Linked DNA regions of Homo sapiens: region 2 is linked to region 1. Evidence: promoter capture Hi-C in human tissues and cell types (Jung and others, 2019). All regions are on one chromosome and are shown on one strand. Each heading gives the region's core, a stretch centred on a gene start or on the middle of the fragment in contact. The rest is flanking DNA. Distances are from core to core; before and after follow the strand shown. Region 1 holds the start of RAD23A (RAD23 nucleotide excision repair protein A). Region 2 holds the start of GNG14 (G protein subunit gamma 14).

Region 1 (5,178 bases), core at 2,293-4,792:
AAAGCTGAGGGTTCTCCTGGCCCAGCTGCTGGAGCAGGGCGGGCAGCAGCGCAGGGTTCTGCTGAATCACCTGCCGCATGTTCTGGAACTGGGGCTGGTCCCGCAGGAACTCCAGGGGGTTCTCTCCTGCTGGTAGTAGGAAGGGGTGCAGTCAGACACCACGCCGGGCTCCTAGGAGCACTGCGGGGTGGAGTGTAATGTGAGTCAGGTACCTGGAGGGCAGATGCGGCATGTGCACACCCACCTGCTTCCGTGGCCGGCTGCTCCGATACCTGGCTCTCCTGGACAGAACCGTGTTCCGGCTCGGGGCTCCCAGGAATTCCCTGTCAGGGGTCCTGTTTAGTTCTAATGCACAGACCTCCTGCTGCCACCCTCCTCCATGCCCTGGCAGGACACAGATGAGGCCTCGGCCCTGCCCTCCAGAGGCCCACCCATCACTCACATCCAGCCTCCTGTGGGAAGCCTTTAGTGGCTAGAATCACTACCCAAAGGCTTTTCAGGGCAGGTTTTGCCTTCCCAACCGCCCATCAGGGCAGTGACGCCCGGGTACTCCCTCAAGGCCTCCCCGGGAGGCGGAAGCCCCACCTCACCGTGAGCAGATACTCCACGGCTCGGTGGGGGTTGTTGTAGCTGGCTCTCAGGGCGGCCACGACCCGCTCTCGCTCATAGCCCATGGACATGATCTCCGTCAGCATCGTCTCATACTCAGAGCCCGTCACTGTGGAGGAAGCAGCAAAGCCTAGGTCACCAGGAAGAGGAAAGGGCAGCTCCCAGGCCCTCCCGCACCCAGACAAGGCCCAGCTGATGGCTGGGGCACCCAGTCACCTCTGCCCTGGGGACCACCCACCCACCTAGCGTGGAGGCCGCGTCTTCCTCTCGCCCGCTGCTACCTGAAGAGGGAACAGAGCTGCAAATTCAAGAGAGAGAAATCGGACCCTGGCTTCTGGCGGCTTGCCCTCCCTCCAGGTGTGTGGGACCACTTATGTGGACGCTGGAATGTGCTAGGAGGACAGGGCCCAAGCTGGGACTGCTGCCCCCGCCTTACCCTGACACAGACTCTGGGGACGTCGTGGGGGCGGATTCCTCTGATGGGCTCTTGTCCTCTCTGGCGGCAGGTGGGGGATGGGACATGCCTGAGGTGGGGGCAGGCGGGAAGGATGTAGAGGACTCTGGGGCAGCTGTGGGTGAGGCCTCTGGGGGTGCTGAGGTACCCTGGCCGGCTTTGGTCTGCAACAGCAAGAAAAAGGGAGCTGGCATCAGCAACCCTATCAGACCCAACAACCCGCTCCGCTGTGGCCCCGCCCTGTTCACAGCTAATCTCTCCTGGGCACACAGGCTCTTTGCCAGCTCCCCAGCTCGTCCACCCACCCTCCCAGCCAGCACACGTCACCCACCTTGGTCACCATGACGACCACAAAGTTCTTCTCATCGATGCGATAGTCCCTGATAGGGACATCGTCACTCAAGATCTTGCCGGCATAGATGAGTTTCTGTCCAGCCACGGGGAAGGCATCACGACCCTTCTCAGCTTCTATCTTCTCCTTTAGCACCTTCACCTAGAGGGAGTGGTACAGACAGTCACTGGAGACCCCAAGATTCTCTTTTCCCTTCTAGTTTAGGACAGAGAAACTGCCAGCCCTGATGGCAGAAAGGCAAGCACGCTGGGTTTTTTAAGCTTTCTCAGCATCTAAAGCATGCTAGATTTGAATTCATTCAATCATCATGCCATTCAACACAGTATTTACTTATACTAAACACCCATTATGTGCCAGGTGCTGTTTTAGACACAGAGGCCACAGCACAGAACAAACTCAACACAAGTAAGTCCCTGCTCTCAATGAGAGAACACTAATGTGAAGAAAATGTAATTTCGGGTAGTATAAAGTATAATTAACAGAATAAAGGGGACAGTCCCCCACTCTACACTCTACCTTGGACAATAAGTGACTAATAGTTAATAGTGATATTTTTTAATTTTAAGAGGCAGGATCTCGCTGCCGCCCATGCTGGATTGATGTGGCACGATCATCGCTGACTGCAGCCTCAAACTCCTGGGCTCAACTGGTACTCTTGTCCAGCCTTGGGAGTAGCTAGGACTAAAGGTACACACCACCACTCCAGACTAATTAAAAATAATTTTTTTTTGTAGATAAGAGTCTCCCTATGTTAGACTGGCTGGTCTCAAACTCCTGGCCTCAAGCAATCCTCCTGCCTCTGCCTCCCAAATCATCAGGATTAGAGGCATGAGCCACCGTGCCTGGCCAATAGTGCTACTGTAAATGTATATGTGTCATACCTTTTAAGTTTCCTATGAAATACGTTTAATTGGTCTCATTTTATTTATTGATTTTTGTTTCTTTTTTTTGTAGAGAACGGGGTCTCACTGTGTTGCCAGGATGATCTCGAATTCCTAGGCTCAAGGGCTCCTCTTCCCTCTGCCTCCCTAAGTGCTGGGATTACAGGCGGAAGCCAGCAGGCGACCGGTTCATTTGATATTTGAGAAAACGGAGGCACAGACAGGTAGGCAGGTTAACTTGCCCAAAGCCAAACACTTGAGCGGATCAAAAAATGTGTGTTTCCTTTTCTACAAAAAGTGGACTTCAATGTCTCCCTCACTATGCAAAAAGCGCCAAGTACCCAATAGACATTCAGTATGTTTGAATTAGGTCCTAATTCTACTTTTGACTAAAAAGGCAGCATAATATTTATATCGTGGACGCTCACACGAGGCAGAACCGAATTTGAATCCCAGCTCTGCCATTACTTGTGTGTGACTGTGGCAAAGTTCCTCAATCCCTAGGTTTCCACATCTGTAAAATGATCAGAGGTCCCCAATGACAAGCCCGTTTTGCAGAGCGGTAAAACAACACTACAACACTCGGTGACTGATAAAAAGTAAACGGCCAACAAACACGGACCACCAAAATTATAAAGACTGAGACCCGTTTATTATCATTAACATCGTTGTTGTCGTCACTACTCAGTATCTCCTGGTCATTACTCCTAGATTCGACCACCAGTGTCCCAAGGAGACGCCTGCAAAGCTGGGAACGTGGAGCCCAGTCTTGGAGAGCTTGGCCTGCCCAGGAATCCGAGCTTGTGACTCCCGCGCCCCGCGAGAGCGCTGACATTGGAGCCGGGGCCTGGCCAGCGCCCCGGGGGTGGGGCCTCGCCCGGAGACCGGCGCAGGAGCGCCGCCCGATCGGCTGGGGGCTGGGCCAAAGACCATCGGGGGGTCCAGGAAAGTCGGGCAGGTCGGGGGTCTGGGCAGGGCCGACCCGCGCCGTCCTCCCTGCCCCTCCCGTTGGGATTCTAGCCTCCCCGCCCCCACCCCACCCCCGAAACCCGTCGCTCCCGCCCCCGGGCTCCGGCCCGGCCCGCACCGTCTCGTCAGGCTCCATGCGGATCTTGAAGGTCTGCTGCTGCAGCGTTTTGAGCGTGATGGTGACGGCCATGGCGGGGCCCGAGCGACGCGGCGGCCCCGGGATCCTCACACAACATGCAACTCACGCCGCCGCCATCTTAGCGCCCAGGCGCGCCGCGCCGCGCGCCGACCACTTCCGGGGCAGGCAATGCGCGCGCTGACCACCGGCGCACGTGACCTGCGCACTCCCTCCTTGGCCTTTGTGGGCATGCGCACGAGCGCGTTCTCGAGCGAGGCACGCGCAGACTAAACTCCGCGCTGTGGGCGGGGCTTCTTGCTCGGCCCGCACACGTGGTCTCCTGAGTGACGCCATGCCCGTTATCGGTGACGTCACGGGGCTGCAAAGTGACTCTGGTGTCCCCACTCTCACGCTCAAATGAATTTTTAACAAAGTTTTTATGTACCTGTACTGGTTACAGACATTTGTATTTCTTCTGTAAAAACCTCATTTTGCCTCTTCCAAATGAGAATTTTTTCTTTCAAACAGTCTCTGTCACCCAGGCTGGAGTGCAGTGGCGCGATCTCGGCTCACTGCAGCTTCCGCCTTCCGGGTTCATGCAATTCTCCTGCCTCAGCCTCCCGAGTAACTGGGATTACAGGCACCCCCCACCACGCCCGGATAATTTTTTGTATTGGGTTTCACCGTGTTGGCCAGGCTGGTCTCAAAACTCCTGACCTCAGGTGATCCACCCGCCTCGGCCTCCCAAAGTGCTGGGATTACAGGCGTGAACCACCGTACCCGGCCCCCAAATGAGTTTTATTCTGGTCTGGGTATCCTGGCAGGAACCCTTGTAGAGCAGTCAAAGTGAAAGTTACTCAAAACTAGAAATACCTGAAAGGCCACCAAGCACAGAAAAAAAACCTTAAGTTGGAAGCGGGGGCAAGGTGCCATTTTGTAGCCTCATTCATTCTTTAGGGATCTGGAGTTTTGGAATGAACCTACAATTTTCATTCTTGGGTCTCCGGGCAGGAGTACTTTGTTGTACTATACCTAATCTGACCCCAGAAGTATTTAAAGATGTTAACTTTCAAAGCCTCACTACATTAAATACAGAATTCTCCCTTGGATCTACCAGTCCTGGAGGCATCCCAGAGGGGTTGGGCTGAGCCACAGGACCCCAAAGGAATAGAAGCATGAAAAAGGCCAGTTTAAGGGGCAGGGTGAACCAGATTGAGCCACTGTACGCCAGCCTGGACAACAGAGCGAGAGTCTATCTTAAAAATAAATAAATAAGCAGAACCAAAACTTACCAGTTAGGTTCAAGGATTCAGTAAGTTAGTATGTGGAGTATTTACAGCAGCAACAGCCATTCCCCCGTTGGTTTTGAGGGTTATGGGGTAAATAAGGGTCCCTGGAATCTTGTGGAACACTCAGCAACCTCTCTAGCAATAGCTGAAAAAGGAGATATACTGGAAACCCCCCCCCCCCCCAAAAAGACCACTGCTGGGTTTCCTTAAGTCTGTCTTTCCCCAGAAGGAGACACAGGAGGGAGACACAAAATTTAATTTAATAGAAATTTTGTTTGTAGTTCTTACATTCTCAGTGTGAGCCAATCTGGGACCCACTGCCCCACCCAGAAGTGGCCCAGTCCTGGGGGCAGGGGAGAAAGGGAGGGGTGAAATGAGAAGAGCCCCGTTCTTCCTCAGTGCTGGGGGGTTGGAGACACCACCCCCTTCTGCTGCCCTCCTCTGGGCTCCAGGAAGGAGAGCAGATGAAATCTCAGGCCTGTGGCTTCTCCACACCACTGCCCCCC
Region 2 (5,514 bases), core at 1,618-4,117, 260 kb after region 1:
CTCTCAGTTGAGAGCGAAGGAGAAATAAACCTGACATGTTGGTGCTTGGGCCTGGAGTGTGAGTGTGGTTTGCCTGCTGGGGTTCTGCCTGTGCCTGCTTGGGGCTGTGGGGCTGCGGGCCTGCATGGGAGTGACTGGGAGAGATAGCAAGTCTGGGCTGGGGGTGCATGTCAGCTGTTGCTGTGCATTTGAAGAGGGAGAGTCCTGAGGATCGTGGGCATCTGTGTCTATGATGTCACGTGTGTGTGTGATGTGTGACGCGTGTGGTGTATAGATTATGACTCAAATCCTGGCCATTTGTCTGCACGGTGGGAAAGGGTACCTGCTCAGGCTATCCCATGGGTGCTGGCGAGGGCAAGAGGGATGGCGTGCTCTCCGTCTGGGGCTCCAGGGTGTGTGTGTGCTGCTGTGGCTGTGACCCCGGGGGCAGGCAGGGAGGGAGGCTGGGCCAGGTACGCACCTGGCCCCTGCAAGCCCAAAGTCCCTCTGGTCTCCCATCTCAGCCCAGCTCAGCCATGCCCTGAGAAGTATTCACTTCATGTTTATTGAGGCCCCCTGGTTTGCCCAGGCCACAGGGTGGCATTGCCCTGGGTTCATAGGATGGCATAGGGCTTCTTCTCCTTGAAGGAGTTGGTGGCGGCCGGGATGCCCACAAGGAAGGGGTCATTCTTGGCCTGCTCCGTGCAGAACTTCAGCAGATCGGCGGCCATCTTTGGACACCTGCAGACCAACTGGTTCAGCCAGACCAGACCCAGGCATGCACCTGTCCCCTGGCCCATGTGTTCCCACCTCTTCCCGCCTCCTGCACTGGCCCCGACCCTCACCTTCACTTGGTCGATGCCTGCCTCCATCTGGAGCTGCTCCACTGCCCAGAGGGCCTGCCCAATGTCACTGTTGATGGCCACCTTGCTGGACATCTGGGTAAAGTGGGCAGGCCGTGGGCAGCAGGCCCAACCTCAGTCCCCTAGGGGGAGCCTAGGGCTGCCCGAGGGTTCCCACACCTCCTTCTATGTTCCTTGGGGGCTGCAGGATGAGGGTGGCTGCTCCTGGACCCATCAGGCCCACACACCTCGGCTAAGGGCTCCGGCCCAAGTCACCTCTGGCTGCCTGGTCCTCTGGTGGCCACCCTGCTGTGGCTCCCTCCCCAACCCAGCCTGTCCTCTTCAACCCCCTTTTCTCCCTCGGCTACCCCTGCAAAGACTTTGAAGCCAGGGCTCTCATGGAGTGAAATGTCACCAGCTGCAGCAGCAGCTGCTGCCTCGGCTGAGGGGGTCCCTGCCCCAGGAGGCCCTGTGGCTCCTCTGGTGTCATGTGTCACCTGGGTCCCTGTGGGCTAGGTGCCTTGGCTGGGGGAGTGAGGAGGCCCTGGCCTCCCCCTGGCCTGCTGGATCTCCTGCTAACTGTTCCCAACACATCTGCTTTGTCAGCCTCTGCCATCTCCAACATGCAGCCTTGCCTCTCCTCCTGTTGTCGCCACTGCTCAGGCTCAAATCTCCAATGCCTTCGTTCTTTTTTTTTTTTTTTTTTTTTTTTTTGAGAGAGAGTCTTGCTCTATCACCCATGTTGGAGTGCAGTGGTGCGATCTCAGCTCACTTTCAACCTCCACCTCCCGGGCTCAAGTGATTCTCCTGCCTCAGCCTCCTGAGTAGCTGGGATTACAGGCGTATGCTACCACACCCGGCTAATTTTTTTTTTTTTTTTTTTTTTGAGATGGTATTTCGCTCTTGTTGCCCAGGCTAGAGTGCAATAGCGTGATTTCGGCTCACTGCAACCTCCGCCTTCTGGGTTCAAGCGATTCTTCTGCCTCAGCCTCTCGAGTAGCTGGGATTACAGGCATGTGCCACCATGCTCGGCTAATTTTTTGTATTTTTAGTAGAGATGAGGTTTCACCATGTTGGTCAGGCTGGTCTTGAACTCCTGATCTCAGGTGATCCACTTGCCTCAGCCTCCCAAAGTGCTGGGATTACAGGCATGAGCCACTGCGCCCGGCCACACCTGGCTAATTTTTGTATTTTTAGTAGAGAAGGGGTTTCACCATGTTGGCCAGGCTGGTCTCGAACTCCTGACCTCAAGTGATCCACCTGCTTCGGCCTCCCAAAGTGCTGGGATTACAGGTGTGAGCCATCGTGCCTGGCCTTCTTTTCTTTTTTTAAGCCCAGGTTCTCGCTCTGTCGTCCAGGCTGGAGTGCAGTGGTACAATCATAGCTCACTGTAACTTCAAACTCCTGGGCTCAAGTGATCCTCTCAACTCAGCCTCCTGATTAGCTAGAATTATAGGCGTGAGCCACCGTGCCCTGCTAATTTATGTTTTTAACTTTTTGTAGAGATGGTTCTTACTATGTTGCCCAGGCTGGTCTTGAACTCCTGGCCTCAAACGATCCTCTTGCCTTGGCCTTCCAAAGGAATTATAGGCATAAGCCACTGAGCCCTGCCCCGAGATTCTAATATGTGCCCAGCACTGTGCAAAAACCCAAATTAGCAATGAAACAAGACAAAACCTTGCCCTCATGGAGCTGCCTTTCTAGTTAGGCAGGGATGGACAACAGAAAATGTACTCAGTGAAAGAGTATACATGTGAAAGGGCATATGAAAGAAGAATAAAATCAAAGTAAAGGGGAGAGGAGTGGTCAGGGCAGGCCTCTCAGAGGAGGTGACATTTGAACTTAGGCCCAAAGGAGGAGAAGGAACTGAGAAATGGGGTGTTCTAGGCAGAAGGAGCGGCAAGTACCTGACTCCTTGGACAAAAAAGAGCTTGGTGGGTTCCAGGAATAGCAAAGAGGTCTGTGTAGCTGGAGAGGAGAGAGGGAGGGAGGGCCAGCATGGTGGGAGATGGCAGCAGGGAGGTTGAGAGGTGCCCTTTAAGGCCACTGTGAAAAGCTTGGATTTTACTCCCAGGGGGAAGCTACCATTAGGAGGTTTTAACAGTGACATGTTTGATTTATGGTTAAAGAGCTGTGGCATGCACCTGTAGTCCCAGCTACTGGGGAGGCTGAAGTGGGAGGATCACTTGAGGCCAGGAGGTCGAAGCTGCAGTGAGGTGTGATTGTCCCACTGCACTCCAGCCCTGGTGACAGAGTGAGACCCTGCATCAAAAAAAAAAGCTCAGCGGCTGGGCACGGTGGCTCATGCCTGTAATCCCAGCACTTTGGGAGGCTGAGGTGGGCGGATCACGAGGTCAGGAGATCAAGACCATCCTGGCTAACATGGTGAAACCCCGTCTCTACTAAAAATACAAAAAATTAGCTGGGCGTGTGGCGGGCGCCTGTAGTCCCAGCTACTTGGGAGGCTGAGGCAGGAGACTGGCGTGAACCCGGGAGGTGGAGCTTGTAGTGAGCCGAAATCACACCACTACACTCCAGCCTGGGCGACAGAGCAAGACTCCGTCTCAAAAAAAAAAAAAAAAAAAAAAAAGCTCTCTGATTTTAGCTGTTAGGTGGGAGATGGGTTGGAGGATACCAAAGCCAGCTTGCAGGCTATGGGGATAAAGAAAACACCTGGATTTCGGACCTACTTTATAGGTAGAGGTTGGCAGACATGCTGAGAAGGATGGATGTGGGGTGTGAGAAAAGGGGAGACAGCAAGCTGCGCTCCTCATTTTTAATTTTTATTTATCTATTTTTGAGACGGAGTTTCGCTCTGTTGCCCAGGCTGGAGTGCAGTGGCACCATCTCAGCTCACTGCAACCTCCACCTCCCGGGTTCAAGTGATTCTCCTGCCTCAGCCTCCTGAGTAGCTGGGATTATGGGTGTGCGCCACCACACCCGGCTAATTTTTGTATTTTTTAGTAGAGACGGGGTTTCGCCATGTTGTCCAGGCTGGTCTCTAACTCCTAACCTCAGGTGATCTGCCCTCCTTGGCATCCCAAAGTGCTGGGATTACAGGTGTGAGCCACCGCGCCCAGCCCCAATCCCTATTTTTCAGTCTAGTGGATGAGTGGAGGGTGGGGCCGTTTGCTGAGATGCAGAAAGATCAGGGATAGGTGGAGAGGGAGCTGAGGGGGCAACTTTGAGGTCCAAGCGAGGATGTCAAGGAGGATGTCTGTCTCCTCCAACAAGGTAGGCTCATTCCAGCCTCACGGCTTTTGCTGTTCTGTCTTCCCATGTGCAGGAAATGGCCTCTCTGCATCTTCACATACGGGGATTTTCTCAGCCTTCTGGCTTTGGCTCAAATCTCACCTCCTTGGCGTCCTTCACCCATCCCTCCAACTAAAATCCCGAACTCCTCCACCTAAAGACTCAAATTATCCTGTTTAAATCCTGATTGCGCTGGGCGCGGTGGCTCACACCTGTAATCCCAGCACTTTGGGAGGCCGAGGCAGGCAGATCACCTGAGGTCAGGAGTTCGAGACTAGCCTGACCAACATAGTGAAACCCCATCTCTACTAAAAATACAAGAATTAGCCGGGCGTGATGGCTCATGCCTGTAATCCCAGCTACTCGGGAGGCTGAGGCAGGAGAATTGCTTGAAACTGGGAGGCAGAGGTTGCGATGAGTGGAGATCGCGCCATTGCACTCCAGCCTGGGCAACAAGAGCGAAACTCTGTCTCCAAAAAAAACAAAAAACAAAAAAGGCCTGATAGCACTCACCACTATTGTTAACTTTCTATCTTCCCAATCAGATTGTGGGCTCCAGTAGGGCAGGGTCCACATCTTGGTCTTGTTCACCACTAAATCCTTAGTGCCTAGCACGGAGCCCACCATAGAGAATAGACTACATGAATTGTAGAGTGAGTGAATAATCCTGTTGGCCGTATGCACTGTTAGGAGGGTGTGTTTGAGATACAGATGACACCCAGGGTCTCACATTCTTGCAGGAGGGAAAGAGACGTCAGCCCTGGGTCCCAGAAGAGGCCACTGACCCAGTGGGAGTTCAGGGAAGGCTTCCCAGAGGAGGTGGAGGTGACAGCTGCAGCTATAAGGGAAGGAAGAACAGAGCGTTATGCAGCATGTGAAGGCTTTGGAGACTTGTGAGGGCACGAACCGGGCTCACTATCCCATTAGACAAAAGTGGCTGAGGAAGGATGAAACTGTGTCTAACTCTGCCTGGTGACCGAAATCTTGTCCATGGGTGACGCTTAAGAAGTGACCCTCGGCCGGGCGCAGTGGCTCACGCCTGTAATCCTGGCACTTTGGGAGGCCAAGGCGGGCGGGTCACGAGTTCAGGAGATCGAGACCATCCTGGCTAACACGGTGAAACCCCATCTCTACTAAAAACAGAAAAAATTAGCCGGGTGTGGTGGCGGGCACCTGTAGTCCCAGTTACTCGGGAGGCTGAGGCAGGAGAATGGCATGAACCTGGGAGGCAGAGCTTGCAGTGAGCCGAGATTGCGCCACTGCACTCCAGCCTGGGCGACAGAGCGAGACTCTGTCTCAAAAAAAAAAAAAAAAAAAAAAGTGACCCTCATAAAAAAATTAGCTGGGCACGATGGTGCACACTAGTCGGAATGCTGGGGTGGGAGGATGACCTGAGTCCGGGAGTCAGAGGTTGCAGTGGGCCGAGATCGCGTCACAGCAC

Evidence for each region. Contacts are between HindIII fragments. The study calls those that stand out against the background at their distance.
Region 2: a fragment that was not itself captured here is called in contact with the fragment with the promoter of RAD23A in region 1 in 1 of the 25 tissues and cell types used here (dorsolateral prefrontal cortex).

Annotation. Positions count from the first base shown.
Region 1 is chr19:12,944,226-12,949,403 of GRCh38, reverse strand. It overlaps RAD23A (RAD23 nucleotide excision repair protein A), which reads right to left and starts at 3,542. Exons shown (of 9, transcript NM_005053.4): 1 at 3,384-3,542; 2 at 1,395-1,556; 3 at 1,046-1,227; 4 at 852-907; 5 at 591-718; 6 at 245-323; 7 at 1-129. The coding sequence starts at 3,455. It overlaps CALR (calreticulin), which reads right to left. Exons shown (of 9, transcript NM_004343.4): 9 at 4,915-5,178. RefSeq lists enhancers at 926-2,125, 3,441-3,660, 3,072-3,764 and silencers at 2,755-3,049, 3,021-3,080, 3,101-3,290, 3,301-3,380. The HindIII fragment of the contact is 31,996 bases long and covers 1-5,178 here.
Region 2 is chr19:12,683,452-12,688,965 of GRCh38, reverse strand. It overlaps GNG14 (G protein subunit gamma 14), which reads right to left and starts at 968. Exons shown (of 1, transcript NM_001316692.2): 1 at 544-968. The coding sequence starts at 917. The coding sequence ends at 594. It overlaps FBXW9 (F-box and WD repeat domain containing 9), which reads left to right. Exons shown (of 10, transcript NM_032301.3): 10 at 1-50. RefSeq lists an enhancer at 5,343-5,514. The HindIII fragment of the contact is 4,816 bases long and covers 460-5,275 here.